Linked DNA regions of Homo sapiens: all the other regions are linked to region 1. Evidence: promoter capture Hi-C in 16 types of primary human blood cells and fetal thymus (Javierre and others, 2016). All regions are on one chromosome and are shown on one strand. The core of a region is centred on a gene start or on the middle of the fragment in contact, and the rest is flanking DNA. Distances in the headings are between cores, read along the strand shown. Region 1 holds the start of SHISA2 (shisa family member 2). Region 2 has its middle 58 kb from the start of GPR12. Region 3 overlaps ATP8A2 (ATPase phospholipid transporting 8A2). Region 4 overlaps ATP8A2 (ATPase phospholipid transporting 8A2).

Region 1 (2,762 bases), core at 263-2,762:
TGTTCTCATTGTGGGTAAGAGCTTTGATCATACTTGCATTCTCTTTGCTTATTCAGTTCTTTGTCTTTTTGTCTGATTTCTGTATTTTACCCTGGAGACTTTAGGCCCTATTTGAAGGAAATGGCCATGCTGTCTGGCTTCTTGATGAGTCCCAGTACCCAGCACAGAGCACAGTACACTGTAAGTGCATGGCGTGTATTTCTTGAATGAATGATTTCTTGACATTGAAATTTTTTTTAGCTTACTAGCTTAAGACATTTGGTGAATAGTGCATTTAAAGTATATAATTTTGTGTAGCTTAAAACGATACACAACCAAAAAACTGCAAGAAAACAAAGTGCAATGCTTGGAGAGAGGTTTAGTGAAAAGAATAAGGTGTGTGTTGGGGAGCAGGGACATAGGGTAGGGTTTTTTTTCTTGGATTTGACATTGTTGGGGCAAGTGGAAGAATAATCAACAATGTCTGAATCTTCACATTAACCAGGCATACACAAGCATCCAATGGCTGCTTGAACCTGAGTGTCTTTGCTGTGAATAAAACTGCCTGTGTTCTGAAGTCATGGACTTGAAAGGGACCTTAGTGATCGTCACATCCTATGCTCCACTTTATAGATGAAGAAACTGAGACCAGAAAAACGCAGTGATTCCCTGCTAGTAGGGCTGGGTCTAGAATTCAGGTCTGCTGACTCCCAGACGGTGTGGGAAGGGGCATTCGTTCCTTTAAAAATAAGCACTGCTGCTTTAATAACATCAGCACCTGTTGTTCCAGCTTCTGCAAGAGAGAAGCTATTAATTTCTCCTTCATCAAAGCTGAATTTCTGGTCTGTCTGAACCTTGTTTTCTTCCTGACTGCAGCTGTCTAAACCACTAAGGCCACATGTTGGACGGAGGCACTTTCCTGCTGGAATCCGATAAATCACCACACCCAAATATAGAAAGAAAAAGGGACACAGATCATCCACACCGTGGCCGAATGTGTGACATCTTTGCTGAACTCTCTCCGTTCCACCTTGTGGTGGAGGCCTCCAGTCCACCAAACACAGCCCTAGGCGTGTGAACCCTGCCACAAACATCGGTGCTCTTCCTGCACAGGGCCTGGGACCAACCGTGGCCAGGACATCAGCTGCTGGAAGCCGAGAGAGTTCATCTGAGTGGCGATTTTATGATCTGCAGAGTGGAAAGTAATCATAATCCCTTGAGAAGTTTGCAGAATCGAACCGAATGTTGAATGCCAAAGATCTTCACAAAGCAAGTTGAGTTTCTTCCGTTATTATTGTTATTTGTGTTAGCGAGGCCTGGATTGCTTAGGTTGGGTTTCCTCCCGCGCCTATTCCAGCAGGCAGACCCCGCCCTTGGCCACACCTTTCTCCTTGCCCGGGGTAGGAAAGTGAGGGGCTGCCCGGCGCCCGCGGGCGTCCCTGAGGTCGGGGGTGGGGGGGAGCCGCGCAGCGCGCATGCGCGCCGGGGAGCCGCCGGCCTCTATAAGAGCGCGGCTCAGCGCGGCAGCGAGCGGAGTCGGAGCTGGTCTGGCGCCGGGCGGGGCGAGGCGAGGCTGTGGGCGGCTGCTGCGCTCGGCTTCTCCCGTAGCCCGGAGGAAAGAAACTTCCGTGGGAGGCTTCCATCGGTGCGCACACCTCCCGAGGGCGAGGCAGCGACCGGGAGAGGGAGAGCCGGCCGGAGGCTGCCGGGCTCCTGTGGGACCGCGCTGCAGCCGGGGAGGCGGAGAAGGGGAACCGGGGCGAGCCGCCCGCCTGGATCCGCGCCCAGCAGCAGCCGCGGCCGCCGCCAGCTGGGCAGGCTCCCGGGACTGCGGCTGGGGGCGCGCAGGACCCTCGCCTGCGTCCTGGACGTTCCCGGGGTCAGGAGCGCTCCCTCGGCGACGTGCTGGGAAGATTGGCCGTCGGCCCCGCCGAGTGGAGCGTCGGGGCTGCACCCCCGTGGGCTGCCCGGGCGGCCCGGCCGGAGCCATGCGGACCAAGTTCGGGGCAGAGGAGGCTGAGCGCGGCCGGCTGCGTCACTTGCTGCCCAGAGCCTTGCGTGCACTGCCCGCCTTCGCCCCTTCTACCCGCCCGAGGAGGGAATAAAGGAGGGGAGACGGGCCCTGATTCGCGCGCGGGACCCTGAGGCTTAAACCCTGCGCAGAGCCCTGGCTCCAGGTCCGCGGCGGCGCGCCCAGCGGTCATTCGGCTCGAGTGAGCATCCCTTCGGGGATGCTCAGGGAGGGTCCGGTTGCCAGTGAAACCTCCAGAGGCTTCCGGACGACAGCCCCGGGGGCCTTCTGACTGCATCCCGAGATTTCCATCAGCGAGTGCAACTCATAAGGCAGTCCCTAAGGGGACCGGGCCACCGGCTGAGGACGGGGATGGCTTAGGAGCTCCTGGACCTAGGGCCCGGCGTCGTCGCCTCCTGGGCGTCGCGGCAGAGGGGAGTGGCCCGCGCGGAAAGCGCCGCGGGACAGTCAGTGACGAGGCCCGGGGGTCGCCGGGGCCACGACTTCTCGGAGACCGTCCTGCGCTCTCTGGAGACGCGCTGTCCGCGCCCAGGGTGGTGCCATGTGGGGCGCTCGCCGCTCGTCCGTCTCCTCATCCTGGAACGCCGCTTCGCTCCTGCAGCTGCTGCTGGCTGCGCTGCTGGCGGCGGGGGCGAGGGCCAGCGGCGAGTACTGCCACGGCTGGCTGGACGCGCAGGGCGTCTGGCGCATCGGCTTCCAGTGTCCCGAGCGCTTCGACGGCGGCGACGCCACCATCTGCTGCGGCAGCTGC
Region 2 (2,762 bases), core at 168-2,667, 650 kb before region 1:
CCACCCGCCTCTGTCTCCCAAAGTGCTGGGATTATCGGCGTGAGCCACACACCTGGCCTGGACTTTTTTTTTTTTTTAACAGACATCCTCTCAGTGATTTAAAAAAATTCAGTAAGAATATAGAAGACTTGACAATACAAAAAAACTTAAATCAATGGACAGATATAAAACACTGCATCCAATAACCTCAAATACACTATTTTCTAAAACTGGCTATGTCCTGGATCATAAAGTAAATCTCATCAAATTTCATAGACAGCATGTATGCTATCATGCAAAGTGTCTTCTAAAACTACAGTGCAATAAAGTGAGAACTAAAATCCAAAAACCTAAGCAGAAAATCCTCATCTGTTTGCAAATTAAGAAACCTGCTTCTGAATCACTCACACATGCAAATTAGAAAATATCTTGAACTGAATGTTAATTAAAAGACTCCATATCCCAACTTACGGAATTTAATTAAGCAGAATGTAGTAAAACTATAGCCATAAAATGTGTATGATGGAAAAGAAGATTGAAAAATAATGAACTAAGAGTCCATCTCATGAAGTTAGAATAAGAATAGTAAAATAAACCTGAAGAAGTGAGAAAGAAAGAAATCACAAAATTCTGAGCACAAACAAATAAAATTGAAAACAAACATAATAAAGAGGACCAACACTAAAGGTTACTTTCTTTAAAAACAAAAACAAACAAACAACGAACTAATAAATTTGGCATAGCACCAGTGAGCTGGACTCAGAGGCAAAAGACAGCACAAACTGCTTTCAACAGAGCATCACGATAGTGGTTGCTGGCATTAAAAAGATAACAAGAGAATATAACAGATAACTTTTTCCTGAAATTTAGAAGAAATAGTCTAATTTTTAGGTAAAGGTAACTCATCAGAAATGACTCAAGAAGAAATAAAAAGCGACAATTGCCCTAAAATACAAAATACTAAAATACAACAAAAAAAACTGAATCAGCATCAAAAACCAAAAGAAAAGCCCAGCTTCAGATGGCCTCACTCTTGAGTTCAGCCAAACCTTAAATTAAAGACCAAAAGTGCCAATCTTATAAAAGCTTTTCTACAGAATAGAAAACAGCAAAAATGCTTGTTTGCTTATTCTATAAAGCTGACAAAGCTTTGTTCCCGAAATAAAAATAGTTTTAAAAAGGAAAATTGTAGACTAATCTCACTCATGAAAATAAATATAAAACTTCTAAACAAAATAGTAACAAAATAATGTAATCTGTAGTTAACGGGTTAAGGGAGAAAAGTCACATGAACATCTGAATAAATATAGAAAGTCATTTGTAAAATTCAACAACTACTTGTGATTTTTTAAACAAAATTTTAAACTAGAAATGGAAAGAAACTATTAATCTGATGAAGCTATTTTAAATAAAGATTAGAAAAGAAAGCTATTCATTACATAGATGTATGTATATATGTACGAACATGTGTATGTATGTGAAACCTATTTAAAATGAAAGGATACGGAAAGTTTCTTTTAAGTTATTAAACATATCCCAGGCAAATATAAATGAAAAGAAAGCTGTATATCAATTTTGGTATCAAAACTGTTTTAAGGCCAAAATTTTAAAAATCAGAAAGAAAAGGAAAGAGTATTAAAAATAAAAATATAAATTAGATATTTTAAAATATTCCTTTGAAGCTAACAGATCAAGCAGGCAAGTAATAACCAAAGGCATAGAAGCTTCGATTAATATTTTGAATAATCTTGGTTAATTAGAGATTAAAGAAAATGAGCATTGCCTCTAAGTGCACACAGAACAGTCATGAACACGAGCGATACATAAGCCCATGAAGGAGGGCCCAATGCATACCAAAGAATCAGCAACATTCAGCCCATCTTCTCTAGCCTTATATAAAATTTAAAAAATCGGTATCAAAAGTGGGAGGCTTAGGCAGGAGAATTGCTTGAACCTGGAAGGCAGAGGTTGTTGTGAGCCAAGATCGCGCCACTGCACCCCAGCCTGGTCAACAGAACGAGACTGTCTCAAAAGAAAAGAAAAAAAATCAATATCAAAAGGATCAATGTATATAATCCCATATAGATGAAAATCAAAAACAACACATACATCATCTTTGTAATAAAGAAGAAAAATAAGGAAAATTATTAAATATTTCACATTGAATGACAAGAAAATGACCACATGTCAACATTTGTAGGACTAAGAAAGTTATATTTAGAGGTAAAACTATAATTTTAAATGCATTCATTCAAAAACAACAAATGAGGTAAGCTCTGAGTCAACAGGCTTCACAAAGAAGAAGAGTAACCCCAAGCAAGCAAACACCCGAGATAAGGGCTGACACGAATGAAAGAAAGAATAATACAAAAAGAGAGAAGATGAATCAAACCAAATATTCATTTCTTTGAAAAAAGTTGGAATATAGAAAAGCCAGTAGTAAAACTAATCAAGAAAAAGAGAGAAGCAATTCAAATTTAAAAATATATATAAAAATAAAAATAAAATAAAAAGAGAAGGGGAAATGGACACATTCTCTTAAAAACTTGAAACGCTGGCCGGGCGCAGTGGCTCACGCCTGTAATCCCAGCACTTTGGGAGGCCCAGGCAGGTGGATCACCTGAGGTCAGGAGTTCGAGACCTTGCTGACATGGTGAAAACCCCGTCTCTACTAAAAACACAAAAAATTAGCTGGGCATGGTGGCAGGCACCTGTAATTCCAGCTACTCAGGAGGCTGAGGCAGGAGAATCGCTTGAACCCGGGAGGCGGCGGTTGCAGTCAG
Region 3 (2,762 bases), core at 67-2,566, 560 kb after region 1:
CAACATAGTGAGACCCCATCTCTTAAAAAAAAAAAAAAAAAAAAAAAAGCAAGGCATGCATGGTGCATGCCTGTGGTCCCAGCTTCTTGGGAGGCTGAAGCAGGAGGAGGGCTTGAAGCCAGGAGTTGGAGCCTGCAATGAGCTACGATCATGCCACTGCACTCCAGCCTGGGTAACAGAGCAAGACTCTGTCTCTTAAAAAGCAAAAATACAACCAAAAAACCAAATAGGTAGGAAGAGAGAGCAGAGAAAAGGTAAGGAAGGGTCCTTCCACCTCCATCTGTGCTTTCCAGCTCTCGCCCACACAAGACTCACAACCCCACAACACCTCACCCAGTCCTCATCAACCCTTCCAGATCCAATCCTGCTGCTTCTTGGACTCATTCAAACCCCTTCTCAGCCTCTTACACAGGCCATTTCCAAGGCAATGGCACACTCTGGCCTTTCCTGAACAAAGACAGGTGGTAAAGTGGGTTGGAAGAAGCCCAGCCCCACCCTGGAAGGGCAGCAGCAGGAGGTTATAACTGGAACGTTGTCGACTTCCTGTTCTTGTTGTGTTTGCCCAAATGTCCTCAACGTGCTCAGGAACAACAACCAAGGTGGGCTTACATAGGTGTTTGGTTTGGGAGGTAGCTGGCCACAGGGAAATCTGCGGAGACACCTAATTCAGACAGTTTAAGAAGCAGAATCTTAAACAGATTTGAGAGGCAAGAGATGTGAAAAGAAAGCAAGCTGTCACCCAAGGGCTGCTAGCCAGCAGAGGGCCTCTAGGGAACTAGAAGGACATTGCAAAGCTCCGGGCTGGACCCCTAGGTCTGTGTGATTTTGCTGACATCACTGTGAAAAAAGAAATCATTACAAAGTCGAATTCGCTCACAGCTAGAAGGATTCGGACAGAAGGTGTCCAAAACAGTAAAAGGGAAGATGCTGTTAACTGTGTTTGAAAACAATTATAAAAATGTCAGAAGCTTCAAATCAGTTTTTATCCTTATGTTTTCAGTTTTTTAAACACAGATGAAGGCCCTGTGAATATCAGAACAACAGCAACGCGCTTCTAAAATATAGATGCAGATACCACAGAGCCTGCCCCTCATAAAAACAAACAAGCAGGCAAACAAACAGAAAAGCGGGCTGTGTCCCCACAGTCTCCTCTCTTTTCATATAATCCTTCCTACCTTCATCCCTGCCAAACAGGCTTTCATACCCTTTGCAGCATGGCTTTGTTCCCAGGAAACCTAATAAGATATTTATGATTGTTTCAATATTGGCAGCAGGAGTCTCTGCAGTGGCAGAAAGGTCAAAGCGATCCCTCCAACTACCCCCACCGCCCACCTTGGAGATTACATCTACTATACACACAATTAAATGCAGCAGACCCAGACTGATCTTTTCCTTGTAATTTTTTTAATCACCAAAGGATTAAGAAACGGAAGTACATTATTCAACACAGCAATTCTAAGTGGGTCCCTTAACAGACATTGACCCACATGTGTTTTCTGATGTCACCTAGGTTCTTGGTGCCACAGACCTTGGACAGCTCCCTGCCCCATGCACCATCCTGGCTGTTCCAACCGTTCTCTCTCCTCAAACTCTCCGCCCTACCCCAGCCCCTTCACTTTGAGCACTCTGCCTCCTCCCCATTTCATGGAGTAAACTGAAGCTTTAGAGTGGACGTGATTCACCTTGACACCCACACACACAAACCGACTCCCAAAGCTCTTTCCACCCTATTGATAAAGAAGTCTCTCTTCTTCTTGCCCAAATCAATAAACATTGCACCTGAGCTCACCTACTGGCAGCCCTCCTTTCCTGGTTAGCCCCTACACCTCCCAGGGCTCCTGTGCCACCTCCCCTCCACACTCCTTTTCCTGACCCTGAAACAGAGATCATCCCTGAGGTTTTCTGCCTTTGGTCTTTATTCAATGCACTGAACCATCTTTTCCATGTATGGCTGAAATTAGCACCAGTGTACTCATCAAATGGTTATCAAATTCACCCCCAGCTTGGATGTCTACCACAAGCTCTGTCTAGACCAGCATATTTAACTTCTCTGGATACACCTACCTGAATGTCCACAGACTCTGCAAGATCAACGTGATGACAACTGATGTCTTCACTTCCGGTTCCCGCATATGTTTAGTAATCCCACAGTGAGCTTTCTCAACTAAGCCAAAGAGTTGAGAAAACACCAAGGAAGCAAAAATAAAAAGCATAAAACAAAAAATGCCCTACCAAAAAGTTACACCAACAAATGGTTTAAGCGCCCCCATCAAATGAAAAAGGATCTCTGTGGGGATTTTCTTATGTAACTTCAAAAAATTAAAAACAAAGTTATGAGTAGTCATATAACACAAACATGAGCAAAAAGAAAGGAAAGGCTAAAATAGTAACATCACCACCAAGTTTAAGACAGAAATAATTAATGAGCATAAGGCCAGAGTAAAAATTACAGCCACATTACCACCAGTGTGGTACACTTTATTTTACATAAAATTAAATTTTACTCAAAATGTAAATTATGTTTTACATGAAAACATGTAAAACAAAATTCACAAGCAAATGGACCAAGAAAGCTGTAACAGGAGATTGATGCTATTATCAAACTGACTAATTGGACAGGCTAAAAATACAGATTCAAAAAATGTAATTAAAATGTCTAAACAAATGAATTTTGGAGCCTATGGAGAATACATCTTCCTTCCAAGCACAAAGGGAAACCTGGAATAAGTCCCTCGCTCCTCGTGCAGGCACTAAAGCAACAG
Region 4 (2,762 bases), core at 83-2,582, 520 kb after region 1:
ACGGTGACTGGGATGCCCACTGAAGTTTGAAACTCCTTAAGGGAAGCGCTGAGCTTCATTCTTCCCATGCCTAGTACAATCTCTGGCACATGCCAGGAGCTCCACTGAAATAAACCAAGTAAATACATTTTAAATGGAAATAAAACTGCATGCGGTACAGTACATAACTGGTGTTTCTTTGTTATTGTTGTTTTTCTCCCAAATGAACGATGGAAACAGTCATGAGTTTTAGGAGTCTGCAAAGCTGTCAGCTCCTGGACCACAGAAGACCATCAATTAGAGACCATCACTCCATTTTCTGCTGTTTCAAGTAATGTCAGGCCCTCTGAATCCAAATCATTCTTCACTCTAGCTGATACTGATACCTTTCTGGGGAGGGAGTAACAAGAAGAACCCTAGAGAAATAGAGGGGCAATTTCCCAGTGCTGGGAGAACCCTTGAATTCCTTCAGCATTGGGAGCATCTCTCCCACTTTGAGTCAAGAATTCCCAACCTCCTGACCAAGAACCATGACCTTTCCAAACGTGAGGTTGATGAATGTTTGCAGCATACGACTTCAAGATTGCAGCAAAGGTTAAGGTGTTACTGTAAAACACTATAAAGGAGAAATTTCTTTAAAGGGTGGCGAATTCTCCTAAAACAAAGTAAAGTAAAACGAAAACTAAAGCAAATGCTGCAGTTACCATATCACGGGCATTTTTCAGATATAAAAGACTGTAAGAGGCATTTAAAAACATTGTTTATTAAATGTTTATTTAGCAAGAAGAACCACTTCAAGTTACCCTTCTAAAAAGCTGTTTTCTTTTGAAATCATGTTAATCGGCTTTGAATGCTGGACTAATGAGAGTCATCCCCCAACACATCTTGTGTCCATTAAGAAGGTCCAGCTAAAACACTCATTTAAAAAGCTAATTTTATGAGATATAAAATACCTAGATGGTATGGCAGATTTCTTCTAAATTTTCTACTCATCACCATAAACAACCAAAAAACCACACCATTCTTCAACCCTCTAAACCTCATACTTCCAGGGACGTGGAAGCAAAGCTTTCCTTGCTATTATTAAGAGCAGCTAACTGCTGTGCTAGAACGGAAATGGGGTGGTTTCTTGCCCCCTTTCCACCACTCTGTAGTTAATGACCTTTCCACCCAAAAATGTTTAAAGTGAGAATCACAAATGCTAAAAACAAAAATAAACTTTAACTTAGGTTAAGACAACAGAGGACCAGGGAAAATATTTCTCAAATTGGATTTAGAAACTAGAAAATACTTTGAGATTTCAGAAACGTCACTCAGGAGCGATGAAGTTCATAGCTTGAAGTGACACATTGGGCCCTTACTAGAAGGTGCAAGGGAAGGAGTAAACACGCATCAGGTCTCAGCAGACCTCATGGAAAACTCTACTGTGTCTAACAGAAACTTTATACTGCAATCAAGACCAGCAATTCATTACGCGTCTTCAAACCAATAGTACTGGTACATCTTTAAAATTAGTTTTTACCTCTTTCCACATAATGGTATGCCACATACCATTTCTTAACACTGAAAAAGAGAAAAATAAAATATTGGTTAATACTGGTGTTAAATTGAATCAGCTTCCTAAAATCCAAAAGCTTTCTTTTAGAATTCCATTTATTAATTCTAACATACCCTATCTTTAGCCATGATGGCATAACATCAGCACCCCCACCCTCAAAATGGAACACCAACGTATGGTATGTACCTCTGTAACATATATACATTCATGCATACACATAAATGTTTATGTATGTATGTAAGTTAAATCTACTTATTTTCAGCCCAGAAGAAAAAAAAAGCCTGCTGTTCCACAATTTAAAAAAAACTGAACAGCTGGGCGCAGTGGCTCATACCTGTAATCCTAACACTTTGGGAAGCCAAGGCAGGCAGACTGCTTGAGCCCAGAAGTTTGAGGCTAGCCTGGGCAACACGGTGAAACCCATCTCTACCAAAAATACAAAAATTAGTCGGGGGTGGTGGTGCTTGCCTGTAGTCCCAGCTACTCAAGAGGCTGAGGTGGGAGGATCACCTGAGCCTGGGAGGTCAAAGCTACAGTGAGCCATGATCATGCCACTGTAGTCCAGCCTGGGCAACAGGAGTGAGACCCTGTCTCAAAAAATGAAACAAACAAACAAAAAATTGATGTTGTAGAAATAAAACAATAAAAAGTAGAAGAGGGAAGTAAGGAGAGATTATAAATGAAGGACATGAATGCTTAGACTTTTTATGGACATAAAAACTGTCTAGTTCCTGAAAATTACAACCTTTTCTAACATTCTAAAATACACAAATGCTGTTCAAACTTAATTATCAGGACTAAAATTATGTTCAGTTTGTTTGTTATTTTACTATTTCTTTATTTTATAGATCATCTTCCCAATTTATCTCAATACCATTCACTACTTATTTAAAATTCCTTAAATGCAGGCCTTATTCTTAAGTTTTCCAGTGGAAAAAGTCCTTCAGCCTGGGATCTTACCTATTGTTTTCTTTTTGTTAACTGCATTGTCTGCCTTGTGTCGCTTCTGTTACAGAAAGAAAAAAAATAGTTTAACATTCAAAAGTTCCACATGAATAATTGAAATAGCAAACAAAACAATCAGGAAATTACAGGGGACAAGGAAACTAAATGCCAATAATGCTCATGCTGTAAAATTCAGTTAGACAATTTTGTGATCTATCAGCACTCCCTAAGTTTAGAAGTGGTCTCCTCTAGTTTCAATTATTTTATTTTGGTTCTAGCA

The links. Contacts are between HindIII fragments. The CHiCAGO score rates a contact against its expected background, and 5 or more counts as called.
Region 2: a fragment that was not itself captured here is called in contact with the fragment with the promoter of SHISA2 in region 1 in 3 of 17 cell types (total B cells, erythroblasts and naive B cells); the score reaches 7.1 in total B cells.
Region 3: a fragment that was not itself captured here is called in contact with the fragment with the promoter of SHISA2 in region 1 in 1 of 17 cell types (megakaryocytes); the score reaches 5.5 in megakaryocytes.
Region 4: a fragment that was not itself captured here is called in contact with the fragment with the promoter of SHISA2 in region 1 in 2 of 17 cell types (megakaryocytes and activated CD4 T cells); the score reaches 5.4 in megakaryocytes.

What each region holds. Positions count from the first base shown.
Region 1 is chr13:26,050,766-26,053,527 of GRCh38, reverse strand. SHISA2 (shisa family member 2) reads left to right here and starts at 1,512. Exons shown (of 2, transcript NM_001007538.2): 1 at 1,512-2,762. The coding sequence starts at 2,553. LINC00415 (long intergenic non-protein coding RNA 415) reads left to right here. Exons shown (of 2, transcript NR_146971.1): 2 at 856-1,252. The HindIII fragment of the contact is 15,847 bases long and covers 1-2,762 here.
Region 2 is chr13:26,700,952-26,703,713 of GRCh38, reverse strand. No RefSeq gene overlaps it. Among named protein-coding and RNA genes, the nearest start is that of GPR12, 58 kb to the left of the region's middle. The HindIII fragment of the contact is 576 bases long and covers 1,130-1,705 here.
Region 3 is chr13:25,492,911-25,495,672 of GRCh38, reverse strand. The region is part of intron 2 of ATP8A2 (ATPase phospholipid transporting 8A2); the gene reads right to left. Among named protein-coding and RNA genes, the nearest start is that of ATP8A2, 120 kb to the right of the region's middle. The HindIII fragment of the contact is 692 bases long and covers 971-1,662 here.
Region 4 is chr13:25,532,053-25,534,814 of GRCh38, reverse strand. ATP8A2 (ATPase phospholipid transporting 8A2) reads right to left here. Exons shown (of 37, transcript NM_016529.6): 5 at 2,498-2,543; 6 at 1,502-1,542. Among named protein-coding and RNA genes, the nearest start is that of ATP8A2, 160 kb to the right of the region's middle. The HindIII fragment of the contact is 566 bases long and covers 1,050-1,615 here.